Linked DNA regions of Homo sapiens: all the other regions are linked to region 2. Evidence: promoter capture Hi-C in 16 types of primary human blood cells and fetal thymus (Javierre and others, 2016). All regions are on one chromosome and are shown on one strand. Each heading gives the region's core, a stretch centred on a gene start or on the middle of the fragment in contact. The rest is flanking DNA. Distances are from core to core; before and after follow the strand shown. Region 1 overlaps PRKCE (protein kinase C epsilon). Region 2 holds the start of LINC02583 (long intergenic non-protein coding RNA 2583). Region 3 overlaps PRKCE (protein kinase C epsilon). Region 4 overlaps PRKCE (protein kinase C epsilon). Region 5 overlaps PRKCE (protein kinase C epsilon). Region 6 overlaps PRKCE (protein kinase C epsilon). Region 7 overlaps PRKCE (protein kinase C epsilon).

Region 1 (3,180 bases), core at 653-3,152, 280 kb after region 2:
GCAGAGATGTTTCTGCACGGTGGGCACGAAGGCCAGAGCAGGAAGGAAGAGTGTCTGTGCTTCATTGTGAACAGAGATCAGAGTTGTTCATTGTGAGTCTCACCAATGGACTGCTTTTCATGAAAGCTGAGTGGCTATTTTGTTCATTATAAAGTGAATGTTCTGTCTTGGGTTGGGTCCTTAACTATAACATGGGCTGTCAACTGTTAGGCTCTGGCATCAACTTACAGAGGAACTGGAACTGAGTATTCTGACAATGAAGAATGAATGATGGCATCAACTTAGAGAGGAACTGGAACTAAGTATTCTGACAATGAAGAATGAACGAAGAACACGAGAAAAGCAGTTCCCTGTCGAAAGCTCTTGCTTTCATTTGTTGCTCCTTGAAGGCTGAATTCCTAGTGTTCTTGCTAAGGAAATACATTTGCAGAAAGACTGAAATCCCTACTCTTTAGATCTCTTAGAAGATAAAGGTTCTAAAGGGAAACTACCTATTACTCATCACCTTCACTTCGAGATGTTCCTCAGGCCTCCCCTGTCTTGTGTGGTCTGTGAAGCCTCCTGACCATCAGTCCCTCACTCCCTGCCTTCTGATCTGCACAGCTGTGGCCTTCCTTCTTCCTGGGATGGATCTGACTAGGACTCTCCTCCACTGAAACCCTGAGTGGGTCCACAGATCCTACAGGATCAAAGCCACATTCACTGGGTCTTTATCCCAATCTCATTCATTACTATGAGCACCAGGAAACCCTATGATCTAGCTACACTTTTTAACTGTCCTGGAAAAGACCAAGATGTTTTTGTCCCTTGGCCTTTGCTCATGTTGGAATGTCATAAGTTGTCATTTTTTAACAAACCTTTCTAAGATCCTGATTTGTGTGCCGGATCCTGGCAGTACCCAGATTAGAAACACAGACCCTGCCCTCAAAGGATCCAGGGCCCAGGGACACTGAACCTCCTTTCCTGTCCTGCCCCCGTTCCAATCCTGTTGTTTTCAGGAATACCCTCCCCACCCCTTCCGTCAAAGGAAATCCTCATTCTTTACAACTCAATTCATCCACCAGGTGCTCCAAGAAGCCTTTCCTGATCCCTGAGGATACCATCTTCTTTTATGTGCCTATTTATTCTGCTTAATTAGTTGTTTACTTATCTATCACTCCCTTTAGACCAAAAGCTTCTTTAGAATAGGGACAAGTGTCTCAGTCAGTTCTTTATCTCCACATTGCTTTGTGCCTAGCACGTGCTCAAACAATGCCCACTGAAAGAAATGAGCTCTGAATGTGCTAATACCTATCCGCCATGGGCGATGTTTAGTGGGGATTGGTACTTCTTTCCTATCTTACATGTCTCAGAACCATGAAGATCATTTTGATTGTCTATGACAGGCCATGTCTTAAATCTGAATCACATCACACTAGTTATCTCTCAGTTTGGGCAGGAATAAGGCAAACAAACACTTCATGCTGAGCAAAACATCCCAAACAACTTTCAGGAAAGGCAACCTATTGGAGTGGTTCACAGTGAACATCTCTGATATCTGTATATAATGAGGCACAGTCACTCTCCTCTTCCTGCTCCATCCTGTGTACTCACAGCATAGAACTGCCACTATGCAGGAAATAGCAAACAGTTCCTAGTTTTACTGTTAGCAAATTGTAGCTGATAAAGTGAAGTGCTCCCATGATCAATGATGCTCCTTTATTCTGATTTTATTTTTTACTTTTTTTTTTATTGAGACAGGGTCTTGCTCTGTCACCCAGGCTGGAGTGCAATGGTGCAATTATGGCTCACTATAGCCTCAACCTTCTGGGCTCAATTGATCCTTTCACCTCAGCCTCCCAAGTAGCTGGGACTACAGGTTTGCACCACTATGCCTGGCTAATTTTTGTATTTTTTATATAGACAGGGTTTCACCATGTTGCCCCGGCTGGTCTTGAACTCCTGGGCTCAAGCGATCTACCTGCCTTGGCCTCCCAAAGTGCTGGGATTACAGATGTGAGTCACTGTGCCCACCCTGTTCTGATTTTAAAGACATGAAAACAATAATAAAAGTCAACACGTTTTTCTTGGTCCTAGATTTATTGGTGGTTCTGGACTAGGATGGGAAAGAGATGTTCAGTGTGAACTTGCCCGGGTTTGGGAAATAGCCTGTTACTCTCATTTCACTCATCATCTCCCCAACACTAGGACTTCTTGACAGACATCAATCAGCAAACTTTTTTCCTTTCCTTTTCTCCCTCCTTCCTAGAATCCATCCTGGATTTCCAGAGCCTTCCCCCAGCACCACTAGATGACCCCAGTGCATGGGTTTGGACCCCTGCCTCGGTCCTGGCACCAGGAGGAGGTGAACCTTTGCACACAGGTCTTACCTCAGGAGCTATGTAGTCAGGAGTCCCACAGAACGTGGTGGTCGTCACACCATTCAGAATCCCTTCCTTGCACATCCCGAAGTCAGCCAGCTTGCAGTGACCTTCTGCATCCAGAAGGATGTTGTCCAGTTTCAAATCCCTGCAAGATAGGCCAGGACCATAATGTCAATACGTCACTCACCCCAATATAGTCTTCCTGAGTTGGAGGTATGTGCCTATCTTAGGGAAATCTCCAGCAAAAAAGTCCTGAAAGAAGCTTGTGTTTCTTGAAACCCATCTCAGTCCAGGGGCTCTCTCTCATGTTAGTCAGCCCCTAACGGCACCTCCACTTTCTTCAGCAAGAGGGAGGAACTTCTGTAACCCCAGGAATATATCAAGACTGCTGTGGTTTAATAGAGCTAAGTCAGTAGGTATATATAGAAGCCCTGCTATGCACCCACATTCATATTAATGAGATCCTGCTATGAAAGAAAGAAGCATCTACCCCTGTCCCTCATGAACTAACCATGGGGATCAGCTGGGGTTCCCAGCATGACACATAGGGACATCAACGAAACGGTTAAAACCACCTAAGAGTCAGGCACTACTTTATAGAACACTATGAGAGCTAATGTGCATCAGAGCGGGAGACCACAAACAGCTAGTGCAGGCAGTGAGGGCTTCCAGGAAACAGCGCCCCTCAAGAGAAACATGGTTAGAAGATAAGGGTTCGATACACTGTGAGGAGAGAAGATGGGAGAGAGGAGAAGGCCAATATAGCTGATGCAAAAGGTAGTGAGGAGGCCAGAGAATTGGGCCCTAGTGAATGGTG
Region 2 (3,075 bases), core at 225-2,724:
TATATCAATGACTAGTATCAAAATGTAAACATAGACACATTTGCATACATCTCTCCCTTTATACTTCATTCTGCCCTTCTGCTGCCAACCTAATGAACAAGTCCTGACATACACTGCTCAGACGTGGCTTAACAATTCCATGTTCAAGATGCATCTTTTCTATCAGTTATAACAAAAAATATTAATAAATTGCCTAATTCACTAGCTCTACTTTTTATCATACATTGTCACTCCAGGACTTTCATAAAGCTCAGATGTTGCAAAATAATAAAACTTGTCCACAACAAACACAGGCACTTTACTGAAAATGCTCATATAGAGCTATGGGTATGAGTTTAAACCATCTTCTAGATATGGAGATACTAGCAAAGAGCCCTTTCCTTCATCCTTCCTCTTCTCCCTCTCCCACCATCCCAACGACTAAGGATACTACTGTGTTTAGCTCCAAGGGGTGGATTACCAAACTCAATCCCAGAAGACAGGACTTCCTATAAACAAACAAAAGGACATTTATGAAGGGATTGTTTTACGTTAGTCAACTCTATGTACAGTGGTGAGCATTAATAAAATGTACACAAAACAAAGGTTAGATTAGAACATGAAAATCTCTTCAGATATGACCAGACTGGCCTAGAACTTCCTTCTCAGGTTTTCTATGTCCTTTAACTCACTGAACAAACGTGGAAGCTTCGCTTCCAGAGGTGGTCTAACCACTTCAAAGTCACCTCCAGAAGACATTTATTTTTTATAATTTTTTTTTTGAGACGGATTCTTGCTCTGTCACCCAGGCTGGAGTGCAATGGTGCAATCTCCGCTCACTTGCACCCTCTACCTCTGTCTCCTGGGTTCAAGCGATTCTCCTGCCTCAGCCTCCCGAGTAGGTGGGATTACAGATGCCCGCTACCACTCCCGGCTAATTTTTGTATTTTTAGTAGAGACGGGGTTTCACCACGTTGGTCAGGCTGGTTTCGATCTGACCTCGTGATCCGCCCGCCTCGCCCTCCCAAAGTGCTGGGATTACAGGCATGAGCCACCGCGCCCGGCCTATGATTTCTTTTTAAACAAATGAGAATTTACAAGATGTGTGATTTTCTAACTCTGTCATACGTCGGCAACCTCTTCTCATCTAGAAAGCCTAGATGTGGAAAATGTTTTCTTTTAAAAGGTTGGAGGGAAGTTGAGAGCAACTTTTTCATGTTATATACACACAGGTTTTCTATAAACGGCCAGTAAACCTTCCCAAAGGGTGGTGGGCATGTCCAGCGGGCCAACTGTGGCCTGTCATCCTACCATTTCTCTTGCGACATAGAGGTCTGGTAGAACTAACACCAACCCGCGATGGCCACTGATCCTTCTGCTCACCCTCCTCCAGGACTTTGCTCACCTTCTGTGCCGTTAAGGCCTTTGTTGGTTGTCCTCAGGACTCAGTAGGTCTCCTTCAACTGTGACTGAGCAGTCTCTGCAGGCCTAGGCTTTACGTTGCTCTGTGGCCTAAAGAGGCCTCCGTAGACCCGCCCTGCCACACCCTAGGGGCCTCCCTGCCGCCGCCATGCTTCCGGCCGGCCACGGCAGCTGCCACTCAAAGGCTCTGCATCCGGGTGGCTTGGCAGGGGTGTCCTCTGGAGATCCAGCGGTCGGCGGGGTCGGCTGGGAGAGGCTGCCGCCACCATCAGGTCACCGAGGTGGGTTGAGGAATATGGTCGATGCTCCTTCAAGGCCTGGGTGTGGCCGGTGGGAGCCATAGCAAGGGCTCTGGGATATCTGCAGGGCGGAGGCCCCAGTCTGTCCTGGGGCTCCCCCAACTCACCCGTTGGCCCAGGGTTTGGAGGGCCCCAGGGGAGCTAGCCGCGGAGCTCAGAGTCTCACCGTGATCTCTGTCGGAACTCTGGAAGGCTTTTAAGAAATACCGATATCTGGACTTCCTACAGACTAATTAAACCAGGCATGTTGGTTTGTCCAGACTTTGTTAGCTCTTTGAGCCATTTTAGCATCCAGGGGTTCTTGAGGGTATGTGCCAAGACTGGTATTAAAATCCTTACTTTGTCAGGCTGAGTGGATTTCTGTTGTAGGTCTATGAAAAACCAGGAAATAAACCCATGCATTCATTAATGTACACATTCATTCGTTCCTTTGTATAGGAAATTCTCATTTATGTTCTTGAGTAAGATTGGTCTGTAATTTTACTTCCTTAAAATATACTAGTCAGGTTTTGATATCAAGATAATACCAGTCTTATAAAATCAGTTTTGAAGCTTGCCGTCTCTTTTGGTTTTATGGAAAGTTTATGTAAGACTGACAAAATACCTTAATTAAACCTAAGTTTATGGAAGACTGACAAAATATCTTCATGAAATCTTGGGTAAAGTTTACTTATAAGCATCTGGGCCAAGAATTTCTTTGTGGGAAGGTTTATATATTAAATTTTTTAAAATTATAATACTGTTTAGATTTGCTATTTCTTTTGGCAGTTTTGGTGAATTTTATTTTTCAAGAAATTTGTCTATTTCATCCAAATTTTAAAATTTATTTGTTTTAAGTTATTCGGAATATCTCTTATGAGATATAATTATGACATATCATGAGATATCAATGTCTGTTGGGTCTATAGTGATGCCCCTGTTTTTATTCATAATATGGATATTTGAGCTTTCTTTTTTATTTGAACACTCTCATCAAGATTTATCAATTTTATTAGTCTTTTTAAACAACTGTCTTTTGACTGTATTTATCTTCTCTAGTATAAAGGCTTGCCCTAAAATATGTGGAGTCTAGGGCAAGAGTATTGATGGAGTACATATATATCATACTATATATAAAAAAATATATATTCAGCCAGGTGCGGTGGCTTATGCCTGTAATCCCAGCACTTTGGGAGGCCGAGGCGGGTGGATCACGAGGTCAGGAGATCGAGACCATCCTGGCTAACACGGTGAAACCCTGTCTCTACTAAAAATACCAAAAAAAAAAAAAATTAGCTGGGTGTGGTGGTGGGCGCCTGTAGTCCCAGCTACTGGGGAGGCTGAGGCAGGAGAATGGCATTAACCCGGGAGGTGGAGCTTGCAGTGAGCTGAGATG
Region 3 (3,173 bases), core at 235-2,734, 400 kb after region 2:
GGCCTGGCCAGCATGGCAAAACCCCGTCTCTACTAAAAACACAAAAGTCAGCCGGGTGCAGTGGTGGGAGCCTGTAATCCCAGCTACTCGGGAGGCTGAGGCAGGAGAATCACGTGAACCCGGGAGGCGGAGGCTGCAGTGAGCTAAGATCTTGCCACTGCACTCCAGTCTGGGCCACAGAGCCCGACTCCATCTCAAAAAAAAAAAAGAAAAAAAAGAATCCCAACCTTCAAGAGGGAGGTCCCCCAGGGTAGGTGGAAGGTGGGCCAGCAGTTCTGTAGATAACCCCCTGGTCTTGAGCCCCATCTTGGCCTTGGTCTTGGAAAGAGGATAGGGACTACGCTTCATTCTTCCAGCTAAATAGGCCATGGGACCAGTCACCACACTTCTTGTCCTTGAGACAGATCATACTGCCAAAAGAACAGGAAAATCGAAACTTTAGTGGCAAAAGAATGATACACAGAGGTAGTGCACAAGCTCAGTTTTTTGTTAAAGTTCGAATTTTTGGAGAGCATGTCATCATTTAAAATGCTAGTGCCTATGACAGTTTGGATGCTTTCATGTTCTTGTTCCCCTTCCCTGCCTTATTGTAAAATATACCTACGAATGAGAATATGTAAAATATGCATATGCATTTTAAAGATCAAATAAGACTCACTTTTAGCTGTGACCCACCTTGACAGATAGAACATGGTTGCTGGCCTTTGAAACCCCTTTAACTCTCTTTAATTGCAACCTCTCTCCCCATCCTCATTCAGTCCCTATTTGGACTTCCCTGGTAATCATGATCTTGTTTTTCTTTTCTTTTTCTTTCTTTTTTGAGATAGGGTCTCACTCTGATGCCCAGGATGAAGTACAAGTGGTACAATCATGCTTCACTGCAGCCTCAACCTCCTGGGCTCAACCTACCCTCCTACCTCAGCCTCCCGAATAGCTGGGACTACAGGTGTGTGCCACCATCCCTGGCTAATTCTTTTATTTATTTTTGAGACAGGGTCTTGCTCTGTTGCTCAGGCTGGAGTACAGTGGCATGATTATGGCTCACTGCAGCCTTGACTTCCTAGGCTCAAGCGATCCTCCCACCTTAGCCTCCAGAGTAGCTGGGACAACAGGCACACATCACCGTGCCAGGCTAATTTAAAACAATTTTTTGTAGAGACAGGGTCTCACTATGTTCCCAGGGCTCAAGCAATCCTCCTGCCTTGGCCTCCCAATGTTGGGACTACAGACATGAACCACCACACCCGGCCCCTTGCTTTTCTTTACAGTTTCATCACCCATGTGTTTCCTCCTAAGAATATTGTTTAGTCTCGCCTGTTTGGGGGTTTTATAGAAATGGAAATATGCTACATGTCTATTCTGGGACTTGCTTCTTTCCTTCTGTAGTCAGCTGTGTATCTTTTAAAATTACCAGCTCTTATGCCTCAGATCTCTGTGTTTAAGGGGTCTCATTTACTCTCTTATAAATCCCCTTCAAAAACATCCCTTAAACATCCCAAAAACATCCCTAAAATGTCATGACACAGCAAATCGACCAATTCATTCTGTTCTCTTGGATACAGGTTGTCAACCACATTTAGGAAAGCTGTGGCCAGTTCCTCACCTTTTCAACCTAAATATTTTCTTACATCAGAGTGACACTTTTGGTAGAATTAAAGATCAGAGAAATGCATTCAAACCTTCTGCATGATACCATCTTCCAAAAAGGTAACATTTCCACCACTACATTCTTAATGTTTCTGCATAGTCTTCTACGCTTCTTTCTGATTTTGTCTAACTGCCCATACTCCCGATTCTTGTCCTCCTCTACCCATGAAGTCTAAATGTCCCATTCTAGAGAATTGAGATTTTAGGTTTCACATCTTTACCTTAATCTTTGAACCATCCACATAGCTTTTATACCCTCTAACTTCGTATACTCTCCCCATGAATGCCTATGTGCTTAGACTGCGCTTTTTACTCCCATGATCCTGCAGACTGTTAGTACCATTTCCTACCAAGGAGAAAGGGGTATTTGAATATCTGCATTTCATGCTCAATAGTGTCTTCAAGATTTGAAAATTAACAATTAGCTCAAAGAGCTAAACAGAATCCCTCCTTCCTGGGATATGGATGCACAAGAATCATATCTATTGATCATTTTCAGCTTTTGGAAGGCCCCAGTTTGCTTCTGCCTATGGCGTCTACCAGGTACTGACTTCCAGTGTTTACCTAGTACCCAGGACACAGGCTCACTCTGGTTCCCATAGTGATGGGTCAGTTTGCCCTCCCAGAGATTAATGTGGTTTAAAGCAGCAGAGATCAACACTGGCCAGGGAGCTAAATGGATCTGAACTACACAAACATCCAGATCTGCCTTGGACAGGGCTTGCTCCTTTTCACACAATAACAACCCTACAAAGCCAATTTCCTTGAATCAGATGGGACCTTGCCACTGTGCTCCTGTGGGGTAGGTGGAACCCAGGGTTCTTATTCCTGTGACAAAGTCCCTTATGAGACAGCGAGAGAGTGACAGAGGGAGAGAGTGAGAGCAAGGGAGAGAGAGGGAGCACATGAGCGTGTATGTGACCCGGAAGGGGCACTTCAACGCTTGTGCCTCAGTTTCCTCCAATTTGTAGGAGTATACCTACTAGTCAGCCCACTCATCTCTTCCTCTGATTTTCATTCTCTGGTTCACCTATTAGCCTAACCTCCCTAGGTGGACCAGCAGTTCTTTGAACAAGGATTGTGTCTTTTTCTATCCCTGGAATACCTGATATTAAGTTGAAGACATACCGTACCAGGTACTAAAAAAAATACTGGTTGTCTAATGTATACTGAAGCAGAACACTTCGTCCCTGGCTGGGGGTGTGTGTTCCAGATGTCTTACGTTCCCTGGTACTGCTCCTGCACAGCTGTTTTTTAACACTTCAGGGTTCAGTTACTCTGCCTAGCACTGCTGCACCTCAGTCACCACGTCTGGCAATCCAAATGGATCTTGCCAACCCCGGGAGTTCTCTCGTGAATTCTTTTGTAAACATTTTATAATAGGAGTTAGCTTTTGCAAGGTCAACAATCACACCTACATTTGTTTTTTTTTACAGTCAAATTTTCGAGCTTTCTTTCAGTGGAGCCTACCTATACTTTGTGAAGTGTGTTTAATCTCTGAGTTATGTACATCAAAAGATACTTCC
Region 4 (2,951 bases), core at 195-2,694, 380 kb after region 2:
GATGGACAGAAGGACCTGCCTCGGGTTTGCCTCAGGGTCTTAGTCAAGATGGGAAAATGTAAATTACATGAAATCAACTGCAGAACACAAAATGGTGTATCAGAAAGAGCTAAACTGATGTGTAACACAAGGAACTGGGCAGAAGGAAACGCATGATGGGAAACTGAGGCAGGCTTTCTAGAAGAGGTGGGATTTACGAGAATGCAGAGTGGAAAGCAGAGGGAAGCCCCTCTGGTGACCTTCATGAATTCAAGTGAGAATATTTTCCCACAGCTACAAGGATACTAGAAGGTATTTCCTGCAGCGGGTATTACACCTGCAGCTGCTTCCCCCTTGACCAGAGTCTGCTTAGGAACAATCAGGCAGAAACTACCTTGGCTGCCCAAGGGCTGGACTCCAGTCTAGGCTCACAGTTAATTGCAAGATGTGCGTGTAAAGGGCTTTGCACCAACTGGGATAGGTTGTCCCATCTCCTGTTGCCCTATCTCAGGCCACTTTAAGTCAATAGAAGCTTAAAGTATCTGTGGGCATGAGAGAGAGCTGGGCTATGTGCATTGTCAGGACTGGGAAGAAACCAGGGCAGCACTAATCCAGTGAGGTGGGGGCTTCTATCAGGCTGTAAGCCCACTCGGCAATACTGACAGGTGGGAAGCTTCTAAGCAGAAACCCTGAGGTCCCTGGAAACCATCAAATAGGATGAGGGTTGCGCTAAGGAAACGTCTAGGAAAAATGGGCCCGGACAATCTTGCCCCAAGCTCAGTCAAGAAGGGGAAAGACAGACCTTGTATCTCCTTCCTGCCTTTCAATTCTGACTATGAAGGTAAGAGACATCACGGGACTCCAAGGAAGGCCCTGGGACTCTAGACTACAGAGAAGAGCCTAACTAAATTGCTTATAAAAGTTTTTTGGAGTTCCTCCTGTGTAGGTCAGATGGAGGCATTACTGGCGAGTCTCTACACTCCAGGCCAACTATTACAACACATGACTGGTGCCCCATACAGAGCTATAGGAAAGTGCAGAGTGCATTCTGTCTGGGAAGGAGAAAGGAGGAGGGCAAGAGTCACACTGAGTTGAGTCCTGCAAGAGGAACAATATTTCCAGAGCTGGTGAAGGTTCTGAGCTCAATGACCTGGTGTCCTTTTGCATTTAAAGGCCAATGTATTTCCTACCCTAAGGAAAAGTTCACCTGTCAGACACTGGTTCACCCCTAAACAGAGAGAGAACTGGCCAGAACCCATAAGCAGAGTAGATCACTTCCAGCTATCATCCGTCTCCCCCTGGAGAAAGGCCAAGTGCGTGGACAAAGGGGAATCAAGGACCACTGGACAGACCCCGACACTGGGCACGTCCACCCCTCGGTGACAAGACCCGAGCACCTTGCTTAGAAAGTCATCTGCTCGGTAGGAGGCACTGGCAGAGGGGCTCTGGTGGGACATTGAGCCCAGTGAACCCCATATGGATCCCTGTTGGCTGTAAAGAATCTCTGGACATGGGAAATTGATGGGGGCTGGAATACAAAAGAACATGAAGATAGGACATTTCCATTTTGTTAATACCCTTGAGACTTTTCAATAGGCTGTAGCTGAAGCCTCAGGACAGTTCTGAGAATGAAGCTGGGAGGGAGTACTGTCTCCATGTCACAGATAAGGAAAATAAGGCTCAAAGAGATCATGTACCTGCCCTAAGGTCCTATGGCTAGTCAGAGAAAGAACAGAAAACAGAACTTAGTTCTCCTTTTCCCCTAAGTGCCCATAAGCAAGTCACTAAACCTTACTATGGAAGGGGCAGGGGGTGGGAGGGGTGGCAGGCAGGCTCATTTGTGGAGTCCTTGACACGCTGTTTAGAAGTAGGTGAGTTAAATTAAAATACACTGGTTTGATAACTATTGATGATAATTAATATGTGAGTTAGTCTTCCAATTTTCAAAGTACTTTTTACATTTAATGAGCTACCCAGCTGGTCCTTCTAAAGCCAAGGGAGAATTGCATTTTAAAACCAAATTCAATTTTCCAGGATTTTCTGGTACTTGACAGAAAACTTCCTGTATGCAAGTCAAAGGTTAGTAAGCAGTGGAAATGCTTTGATGGTATTTATTTTAAGCCAAGATATCCTCCCTATTGAAAAAATCTTTTTTCCAAGTATTCACTTTTGAGTTATGTAGCATTCTTACTAAAAAATAAATGAGTTAAGTAAATAAGGGGAGGGGAAATGGGAACCACTTTGATTTGAAGCTTTCAACAAATGACATTGTCCAGAGTGTGTCCTGATCAAATTCAGTGTTTTGAAATGCAGCTTTTCAAACATTCAATACCTAACATGTAACTAATAGGTTTGAGTTTTACCGTGATCTCCAACTCCTCAAGTTACACAGGATGTGCCAAGTAAAGGCCTCCTTCCACTGACCACACAGCACTGCGAGCTCACAGCCTGCTGGGAGGGCAGAGGGTACAATCACCTCCCAGAACAATGTCTTCCACGATGTGTTTTTTCTGTCTCTTGTTCCAGCCACCTGTCTTCATTGCTGTATAAAAGAAGACTTTCATCACCAGGCATCAGTTGTGTTTATCAGCCCTTAACGGGATCTTGTCCATTCAAGTTCCTCGGGTTCCCTTGGCCAACTGGAGATGAGATTTCCTGTACTCTTTTTCTAATGAGTTTAGCAAGGAGGTATCAGACAAGGAGGGCAGTTCAATGAAAGCCTTTGACTCACCTGGCCCAGCCTGCTCTTAATCCTGTGCCTCAAAACTTCTCTAAGTAGGGATAAAAATGGCCAGGAAGGCTGGGTCTCCAGGAACAAGATGCCATTGGATTCCTGCCTCAATCATTTCTCGAATATCAGATACACCTCTCCTGACCTAAAAAGAATTCACTTCAGGAGAAGGGACAGAGAGCAGGCTGATCATGGCCTTCCCCACTAAGTTGAGGAAAGCCCAGTGTCCTCCTGTGCATGA
Region 5 (2,968 bases), core at 280-2,779, 450 kb after region 2:
CTGCAAATGCCTCCCATATATATTCCCATATATGCAGAAGTAATGGTCAAGTGGGAACAAAGAAAGCATGCAAGCTGTGGAGAGCCTCCAAATGTCATCAGACTGAGCACCTGCCTCCTATGGGTGCCAGTGATCTGGATCTAACCACGGGCCTCTGAAGATTTAATTCATAAATGCCTCTTACCTTGACACTGGTATCCCTGCTTTCCTATGACACCCCTGAAAAGAAGAATAACATTTTTTTAAAAAAAGTGAAATCTTACCAGGTCAAAAAACAAACAGAAAAACCACCCAATTTGGGCCACCACCCACATAGCACCAAGTACATGAAGTATGCAGAATATTGTAATTTCTCTCTCACTTGCAAGGTGCCTTAAATGTCTCCTTCCAGAAGCCCACAGAGGGCAGTCCCAGTGCTTGGGGAGGTGCAAGGTTTGGTCAGCATCAGAGCTTGATTTCCTATACAGAGAGCCATTCCTGTGTGGTCAGCAATGTTCTGGAAAGCCACAAACGACCCTGCTTGCTCCTGGTAGGCATTGAGCAGTGAAGCATACCTTTCCTTGTGGATAGAATGGACATTCCTCTTCTCCCAGCACCAGGACACGCTCTGTGGGCCCTCTAACTGTGGAAGAGGGCTGCAGCTGGCAGGTATATTTCCCTGGGCAGTCCAAAGACCACCAATGGTTCTAAGCCAGTCTGTGCCCCGAACTAGAGGTTCAAGAGGTTGTCTAGGTGAAGGCCAACATTAGAGGTTCCTTCCATGGCCAGAGTGGTGTTCCCAGGGCAAGACAGAAAGTCAGCATGGACACAGAACTATCACACAAACCCGGCCTTACCCCTGTCCTTAGTGTACTAACTACAGATGGTCAGGGAGCTCCCTGAAGTTCCCAGCCCAGTGGGAACCAGAAGCTATTCAGGCTCCACCCCAGGGAACCTAGAGCTCAGTGGCCTTTGCCCATGGACTTAGAGGAGACCTGGATCTGTAAGACCGACCACTCAGTTCATGACCAAATGTAGCAAGTGAAGGTCAGACAGCTGGGTCTGCCCTGGTAATTGGAAGTATCTGTGGCTGGAATGGGGCATTATTTCTGCCTCAGTTGGGCTGGGCTTGCTCTGAGCTATATCATCTCAGATGTCTACGCCAACCTGGATGACTGGCTTTGTGACATCATGAGGATAAGACAAGTGACTACTGGACACCTGGAATCCAAGGGGTCCTCAGAGCCCAGTGCAGATGTCCCTGGCTGGGTTCATACTGCATCCTGGCCTCACTCGCTCTCCCCAGTTGGATCCAAGGGTTCATGAAGGCAACCTCTACATCAGCTTCAAAGAGCTCAGACAGCTTGCTAGAAAGGCTGGTGGGATGTCAGGAAAAGTATCAGCATTAAAAGTCAGACTACTAGGGGTAGAATCATACTTCTGACACTTCCTAGCTAGAGGACATCAGGCCAGTCTCATTTTCATTTCTGAGCCTGGGTATTGTTAGTGGAATGGGGCTGGCCTTCGATCATCTTTATCTCAGCCCCTCTCCTCCTTCCAGATTTTTTTTTTTTTTTAAGACAGAGTCTCACTCTGTCACACCCAGGTTGGAGTATAGTATAGCGATCTCGGCTCACTGCAGCCTCCACCTCCAGGGTTAAAGTGATTCTCATGTTTCAGCCTCCCAAGTAGCTGGGATTACAGGCGCACACCACCATGGCCAGCTAATTTTTGTATTTTTAGTAGACACAGGGTTTCACCATGTTGACCAGGCTGGTTTCAAACTCCTGACCTCAAGCAATCTGCGTGCCTCGGCCTCCCAAAGTGCTGGGATTATAGACATCAGCCACCGCACTTGTGCCTGGCCTCCTTCCTGATTTTCTAACAAATCCTAGGCATCAGATAATTTCACTTGTAAATAATTCAGTGAATTATTTTTCAGTGGATTATTATTCAGTGGAATCCTCACCCTGAGGTGTGTCTGTAAAAGATAAGTATTCTTTTTAAAAACACACAATCAGCTGGGTACAATGGCTCACATCTATAATCCCAGCACTTTGGGGGGCAGAGGTGGGTGGATCACTTGAGGCCAGGAGTTCTAGATCAGCCTGGCCAACATGGCGAAACCCTACCTCTACTAAAAATACAAAAATTAGCCAGGCGTGGTCGTGTGCTCCTGTAATCCCAGCTATGTGGGAGGCTGAGGCATGAGAATCACTTGAACCTGGGAGACAGAGGTTGCATTGAGTGGAGATCATGCCACTGCACTCCAGCCTGGGCAACAGAGCTAGACTCTGTCTCAAAACAAGACACACACACACACACACACACACACACACACACACACACACACACACAGTCACAATATCCTTGTTGGTTACTAAAATCTTAACTCTTTTCATAAAATTCTAGGTATAAAGTTGCCAGAAACCATCGCTTCTTTCCATGTATTTCCCCCTATGTACCAAACACACACTTAGCCTTCCATAATAGTCCCCTGCATTCAGATAAGGAAGAAACGAGGCACACCAGCATTCTTTAAATGAGGTGCATAGTCTCCCCTACCCCATCCCCGACATCTTGTAACAGAGATGTTGTAATTAGAGGTTCCCAAGAGAAAGGCTTACCAGATGAAGTCTCTGCAATGGGAGCAGTAGGTGGGCTGCCGAAGATAGGTGGCCATGAACTTGTGGCCGTTGACCTGATGGACCCTGCGCCTGACGGCCCCCTGCCGCTTCCTCGGCCGCATGCGTTCCCTGAACACACGCTCTTCATTGTCTTTAGGGGCTGGGGAAGGACAAGAGCAGGGAAGAAAACGGAGTCTGGGTTAGTGCACCTTCAAAATGAGCTCCCTCTGGAGAGCTACTCCATCCCTGGGGGAGTGGAGCTGGGGTGGGTGAGAGGTAGCCTTTGTGTGTGGAGGGACTCGGGGGTCTGAGGAGTCCCACTGAGCAGCTGGAGTGAGCGAGCACATGTAGGGTGGAAAGGC
Region 6 (2,983 bases), core at 141-2,640, 360 kb after region 2:
ACCTCTACCTATCTATTTTCATTCATAAATTCGGAGGGAAAGAAAGGAAGGAAAGAAAGTGAGGTCTCAAAAAAATGAAGTGAGGTAGGTGACTCATTACTTCAACATTTTCTTGGGGGTAACTTTAGCCAAGCCAGTGCTCAAGTAGGTGTATAGGCAGAAATAGGGGGAAAAACAGATACATCAAAACAAAGGAAGTTTATAAATGCTTCCCCTTCACCTGATATTGTACAGGGCCATCTCACCACGCTACAGCCCCTGCAACCCCTCACCACTTCTGTGTCTTTCCTCTAGGTCACAGCCTGCTGCTCCACACTCTGTCATGGGAGATGCCAAGGTTAAAATGACAGTTGGACTGTCAGCATCCAGCTTTTTGGAACGTCTGTTAAATAGTCTTGACGGATGCTGGATCTTTGCAAATGGGTGGTCGGGGACCAATACAGTCTCAGAAGAGGTATTTAAGACAAATTAAACAGCAGTGTTCCCCTGGCCCCATGGGCAAGAGGCAAGAGTGGGTTAGCTTCCCAAGAGACCGTGCCATCAGCTAAAGCATGAATCAACTGATCCATTCTATTTTTTAAACGTTTGCAAACACTTTCCTGGGATCAGTACCATGGCTCAAAGCACCTGTGATCATTTATGGCTTGGAAATATAATAAAGATATTTTAGGATAATTTTTTAATTGGAAAATATTTAAATTCCTTTTTGCCATATGTTTCTGACCTCCAGTGACCTCAGATCTTGATTAGGAAGATAAAGCAAAGACCAACCAGAAGTATGTAATTTTAGAACAGGAAAGTCGATCTGAAAAGTAATTTCTCTAAATTTAGTTACAGTAGCTCTTATCTGAACTGTGGTCCTTACACACCAATAACTTTTGGCTATTCAGATGAGAAGAACAACAAATTTTTTACCAAAATTGTTGTGTTCTTTTTCTGACTCAAGCTTAACCGGACAAATGAGAAGATGGAAGGGCTACTGGTGGAGTCAGAGAAATTCTTTACGTGAAATGACGTCTGCTTTTACTTGTTGGGAAACAGATTATTTTAAGAGAATATTAGAAACTATGACAAACCCCAAAACTGTTTCCCGTCAGAATTCTTGGAGGAATTGCTTAGTTTACCCACAGACACACTCCCTGGCCCCTGAATACTAGATAAACAGCATTCTTTCAAGATACAGGTCTTGAACAGTCATTTTCCCCTTTTCTCTTAATAGCAGGCTTTTAGGTTTAAACTATCCAGAAATTACATTACCACCCATGTCTCCTCCTCCTTTACCTGTTTGCAGAAAAGAAGCTTGGTAAATTATTATCGTATAATCTGTGATGCCAGCGCTGAAGTGTGGAATAATTTAAATATTTTGAAGGGTCGAGGATGTACAGGGTCAAATAACTTAAGAGCATGGCTTCTCAAGCTAGAACATGAAAAATTTCTCTTCTTCTAGTTGAAAATGGGGAGCCACATCTACAGAAAGCTTGGGCTTGGTGTTGGCAACAATGGGGCCTCCCCTTTCCCACTGCCCCAGTCCTTTTCTCCCCACACCCACATGAAAGGACGATACATTCCACAGGCCATGGATGAGCATCAAGTAGCAAAATTCTATAAGACTAAGAATCCCCCAGAAAGAGCCCAAGAGAATTACCAAAAAAACTTCTGTAATTTTGCCTCCAGTCCTAGTTTATTATATGTTACCAGTTTTAGGCCAATGAGGCATTTTCCAACTTCCCTAGTTCGTACTGTCACCAAAATCAGAGTCTAACTATGCTTAGAAAATGCTTCTTTGTATCTCCCTAATTCTTCTTCTATCTAATCTACAAAGGAGATAATATTCAGTCAGACTCTGCTTCTGGTGCAAGCTGCTGATGAAAATCTAAATCCCTCATGCTATGATTTAAGCAGTTATTGCCAAGACTGTCCTTTCTATTACCATCTAATATCATTTATTAAAGAAACCATTAGTGCAAGGAAATCTGATTAATTTGGGATTGCCAATTACTGAGAAGTGAATCATTAACAAATTCATATGAACTTCATTTGCAAATAGAGAACTTTTGAGTGTCGAAGGAGAACGACTATATTTTTAAGGGCAGTTAACAATTTTCTTTTTCTTTTTTTTTTTTTTTTTTTTTTGAGACAGAGTCTCACTCTGTCACCCAGGTGGAATGCAGTGGTATGATCTTGGCTCACTTCAACCTCCACCTCCCAGGTTCAAGCGATTCTCCTGCCTCAGCCTCCTGAGTAGCTGGGATTACAGGCACGTGTCACCATGCCTGGCTAATTTTTGTATTTTTAGTAGATACAGGGTTTCACCATGTTGGCCAGGCTGGTCTTGAACTCCTGACCTCAAGTGATCCGCCCACCTCGGCCTCCCAAAGTGCTGGGATTACAGGTGTGAGCCACTGTGCCCGACCAGTTAACCATTTTCATAGACAGTAAAATACTGTTAGCAAATGAAAGATGTGAGGCCTAACACCTGATGATAGTCAACAACTCTTCGGGCTCAGAGAGGACTGGAATTCTGTGAAGTCATTAGAAATGAATACTCCACCCTTCTCTCAGGTTATTGAATAATCTGTATCTTAAATGACTTTGATAGGAAAATGCTACTCCAATTTAGCCAGAAGAGGAGTCGCTGGTAAGGAGTTGCTGGTAAGGATTTTTACCCCAGAAGGAAGTGGCGATTGGTCTAGCAAAACACTGTAAATCTTTTCCTGCCCCTTGCAAGATGGTCACAGTTGCGGAATTCTCTGCCCTGGGAGCATGCTTGACTTCCATTTTCAAATACAAGGGAAAACAAACAAACTCGAGCTGCTTCACAGAGCCTCAAATAGCTTTTTCCAAAGATGGGCGCCATCCCCCATCAGGTGGGTTTTTGAGGGCCCAGACCACAGAAACCATCTGGGAGTCTGTGCTCAAAAGTTCAGAACAATCCAGAAATTATTTCAGCTGTTTTCATTTTATAAATAAAACAAAAACACCA
Region 7 (3,171 bases), core at 486-2,985, 430 kb after region 2:
GCCAGTACTTTGGCGATTCCTCTGGCATCCACTCCACAGTTGGGAGCCACGTTGGTCTCACATCGACGGTGAACATTCATTTTGCAGACTGTAAGGAGACATGGAGAAAAGACAGATAAGTGTTCATGGCCTAAGATGTTGCTTCTTTTCTTTGAGATTGTATTATATGTTCATGAAGTATTACATGTTCATTTAAGATATAATTTGGAAAATACAGAAATATATATATATATATATATGTCTTCCATCATACAAAACCAAAATCATTCATTAAACCACCTTGCAGAGATAACCACTGTTTCTAGTACTTCATTCCAGCCATCCTTTCTACGTATACCCTAAATATAGATAAGTAAGTAAATGTCACATTTATATTTCCCTCCAGGGACTGGGAATCTTTCAGATCTCCAGTCTGAATTCAATGAATTCCTTTGCTTTTCCCTCTTCACTTAGTTGTCCTTGGTGTAAGACATCACAGGTGAAAACAACCTGCTCATTGAAGTCTGGCACCTAAGGGGCTTAGAAGTCAGCAGCACTCCATTCTAACAAGCAAAACGCTGAACAAACTACAAAATCAACAGCTCTTCCGAGATCCACCAAGTGAAGTGAAGTCCTAGGGCAAACTGAAACTGCTGCTCCCAGAATTAGACAGCCAACCAGGCGAATACAGAGAATCGCAACTTACTGAAGCAGAAACCTCTGTAGGAACAATGCTGGGGTAGAAAAACTGTAACTGTAACCAACAAATGGGCTCAGAGCAGACAAGCCTGAGAGTCAAAAACTCTAAGGGGGACCCAGTCGTTGAGTTGATAGACTTTTGTACATTCAGTTGAGAGTCGTGCTCTTCAGGAGCTCAACTAGATTCTCATAGTAAATATGGAGAAAATCTCAGGATTTCAGTGTGGGGGTTGGGGGTGGGGAACGTGGGGAGAGAACCATTTTTTAAAATAGCCCAGAGCACTCTGCTCTTCTTAACGAGGGCTTCTCTTAGGAGAAACTATTTTATCAGAGGTTGAGGGTTGTTTTTTTTTTTTATCAGAGATTGAGGTTTTATCAGACCCCGACTGATCTGGGGACAAGGAAATCCCCAACTCCAGCCCACTCTAGCCATCCTGTCCTATCTAAGGCCAGGGGAGGACTGAACAGCACTTGTGAGGTTCACAGCTCAAAGGCACAAATTCATGAAAACACCCTAATCACAGCTCTATGTAATTCTTTCCCTCCCTCCACACGTTACTCACATTACTAACAGCCTGTTTACTGACAGTTCCTTTTACCCGGTATATAATGTCTGGCAAGAAAAAACTGTAAGGCATCCTAAAAGGCAAAGAAAAAAAAAAACAAAAAAACCCCAAAAAACCAGTTTGAAGTGACAAGGCAAACATCAGAACTAGACTCAGATATAGCAGGGATGCTGGAATTATCTGACTGGGAATTTAAAACAACTATGATTAATATGCTAAGGGTTCTAATGGATAATGTACACAGCATGTAAGAACAAATGGGCAGTATAAGCAGAGAGATGGAAATGCTAAGAAAGAATCAGAAGAACTGCTAGAGATCAAAAACACTAACAGAAATGAAGAAAGCTTCTGATGGGCTTATTAGTAGTCTAGACATGGCTGAAGAAACAATCTCTGAGCTTCAGGATATATCCATAGCAGCTTCAAAAATGAAAAAATAAAGAGAACAAAGACTGGAAAAAATATCCAAGGATTGGGTGATAACTACAAAAAGTGTAACATATGCAAAAAGAGACTACCACTACGAGAAGAAAGAGAAAGGAACAGAAAAAAATATTAATATTTGATACAATGAGGACAGAGAATTTCCCAAAATTAATGTCAGACACCAAACCAAACCACAGCTCCAGGAAGCTTGAAGAACACCACACAGGATAAATGCCAAAAAGAAACAAACAAACAAACCAACAAAAAACTATACCAAGGCATATAATTTCTAAACTACAGAAAATCAACTATTTAAAAAACGCTGAAAGAAGTCAAAGGAAAAAAAAAAGTTTTACCTATAAAGGAGGAAAAATAAGAATTACATCCAACCTCTCCTCAGAAACCATGCCATCAAGAAGTTAAATATTCAAAATGTTGAGATAAAAACCCCACCACCCTAGAATTCTCTACCCTGCAATATTATCCTTCAAAAGTGAAGGAGAAATTAAAACTTCCTCAGACAAACAAAAATGGAAGGAATTTATGGGCAGTGATCTGCCTTGTAAGAAATGTTAAAAGTAGTTCTTCAGAGAGAAGACAAATGATACAGCTCAGAAACTTGGATCTACATGAAAAAGAGAGCAGGTAAAGAAAGGTGAAGAAATAAGTGGAGGTAAAATAAAAACTTTTATTTTTATTCTTAATTAATTTAACAGCTAATGGTTTGCCCAAAATCATAATATTAGTAATGTGCTGATTATGTGTAATTATAGTATTTCATATATGCTAGGTATGCTTATGTGTAAGTGAAATAAATGATAGTAATGAGACAAGGATGGCAGGGAGGAATTAGGATAATTTTGTTATTATAAGGTACTTGTACTGTCATGAAGCAGCACAATATTATTTGAAAGTAGATTTGGATTTGTTGTAAATGCATACTGCAAACTCCACAGCAAGCACTAAAATAAGTAAAAAAGAAAGTATAAATGATACGCTAAGAAAGGAGAGAAACAATACGAACATATTAAATGCTCAATTAAAACCACAAAAGGCAGAAAATGAGTGGAAGACAAACATAGAAACAAAGAATAAGGGCAACAAATAGAAAACAGTACTAACTATAGTAGATATTAACCCAAGTATGTCAATAATCAATAATCATTGACTTCAAATGTCAATAGTCTAAATATACCAATTAAAAGACAGATTGTTAGAGTGGATCAAAAAAAACAAGACCCAACTAACTATATGTTGTTCACAAGAAACCCACCTTAAAGACACATACAGATTAAAAGTAAAGACATAGAGTAAGATATACCATGCTAACACTAAACCCAAAAAAGCAGAAAAGCTAAATTAATTTCAGACCCAGCAGACTTCAGAGCAAGGAAAGTTATTAGGGATAAAAAGGTCAATTCTCAAAAAAGACGTAATTTTTAACGTGTATGTACCTAAAACCAGAGCATCAAAGTAAGTGAGGCAAAAACTGATGGTACTA

The links. Contacts are between HindIII fragments. The CHiCAGO score rates a contact against its expected background, and 5 or more counts as called.
Region 1: a fragment that was not itself captured here is called in contact with the fragment with the promoter of LINC02583 in region 2 in 1 of 17 cell types (M1 macrophages); the score reaches 5.2 in M1 macrophages.
Region 3: a fragment that was not itself captured here is called in contact with the fragment with the promoter of LINC02583 in region 2 in 6 of 17 cell types (M0 macrophages, M1 macrophages, M2 macrophages and 3 more); the score reaches 8.9 in M0 macrophages.
Region 4: a fragment that was not itself captured here is called in contact with the fragment with the promoter of LINC02583 in region 2 in 8 of 17 cell types (M2 macrophages, M0 macrophages, M1 macrophages and 5 more); the score reaches 10.3 in M2 macrophages.
Region 5: a contact is called between a fragment that was not itself captured here and the fragment with the promoter of LINC02583 in region 2, in 1 of 17 cell types (endothelial precursors). The highest score is 6.6, in endothelial precursors.
Region 6: a contact is called between a fragment that was not itself captured here and the fragment with the promoter of LINC02583 in region 2, in 10 of 17 cell types (non-activated CD4 T cells, naive CD8 T cells, fetal thymus and 7 more). The highest score is 8.3, in non-activated CD4 T cells.
Region 7: a contact is called between a fragment that was not itself captured here and the fragment with the promoter of LINC02583 in region 2, in 11 of 17 cell types (endothelial precursors, M2 macrophages, M1 macrophages and 8 more). The highest score is 9.6, in endothelial precursors.

Annotation. Positions count from the first base shown.
Region 1 is chr2:46,144,421-46,147,600 of GRCh38, reverse strand. PRKCE (protein kinase C epsilon) reads right to left here. Exons shown (of 15, transcript NM_005400.3): 12 at 2,370-2,508. Among named protein-coding and RNA genes, the nearest start is that of EPAS1, 150 kb to the left of the region's middle. RefSeq lists an enhancer at 3,180. The HindIII fragment of the contact is 1,451 bases long and covers 1,177-2,627 here.
Region 2 is chr2:46,427,589-46,430,663 of GRCh38, reverse strand. It overlaps LINC02583 (long intergenic non-protein coding RNA 2583), which reads right to left and starts at 1,474. Exons shown (of 4, transcript NR_103805.1): 1 at 1,385-1,474. The HindIII fragment of the contact is 1,565 bases long and covers 690-2,254 here.
Region 3 is chr2:46,024,983-46,028,155 of GRCh38, reverse strand. All of the region lies in intron 10 of PRKCE (protein kinase C epsilon), which reads right to left. Among named protein-coding and RNA genes, the nearest start is that of EPAS1, 270 kb to the left of the region's middle. The HindIII fragment of the contact is 4,201 bases long and covers 1-3,173 here.
Region 4 is chr2:46,046,955-46,049,905 of GRCh38, reverse strand. All of the region lies in intron 10 of PRKCE (protein kinase C epsilon), which reads right to left. Among named protein-coding and RNA genes, the nearest start is that of EPAS1, 250 kb to the left of the region's middle. The HindIII fragment of the contact is 1,579 bases long and covers 655-2,233 here.
Region 5 is chr2:45,976,227-45,979,194 of GRCh38, reverse strand. It overlaps PRKCE (protein kinase C epsilon), which reads right to left. Exons shown (of 15, transcript NM_005400.3): 3 at 2,607-2,766; 4 at 185-219. Among named protein-coding and RNA genes, the nearest start is that of PRKCE-AS1, 300 kb to the right of the region's middle. The HindIII fragment of the contact is 3,462 bases long and covers 1-2,968 here.
Region 6 is chr2:46,063,431-46,066,413 of GRCh38, reverse strand. All of the region lies in intron 10 of PRKCE (protein kinase C epsilon), which reads right to left. Among named protein-coding and RNA genes, the nearest start is that of EPAS1, 230 kb to the left of the region's middle. The HindIII fragment of the contact is 178 bases long and covers 1,302-1,479 here.
Region 7 is chr2:45,998,321-46,001,491 of GRCh38, reverse strand. PRKCE (protein kinase C epsilon) reads right to left here. Exons shown (of 15, transcript NM_005400.3): 7 at 1-88. Among named protein-coding and RNA genes, the nearest start is that of EPAS1, 300 kb to the left of the region's middle. The HindIII fragment of the contact is 288 bases long and covers 1,592-1,879 here.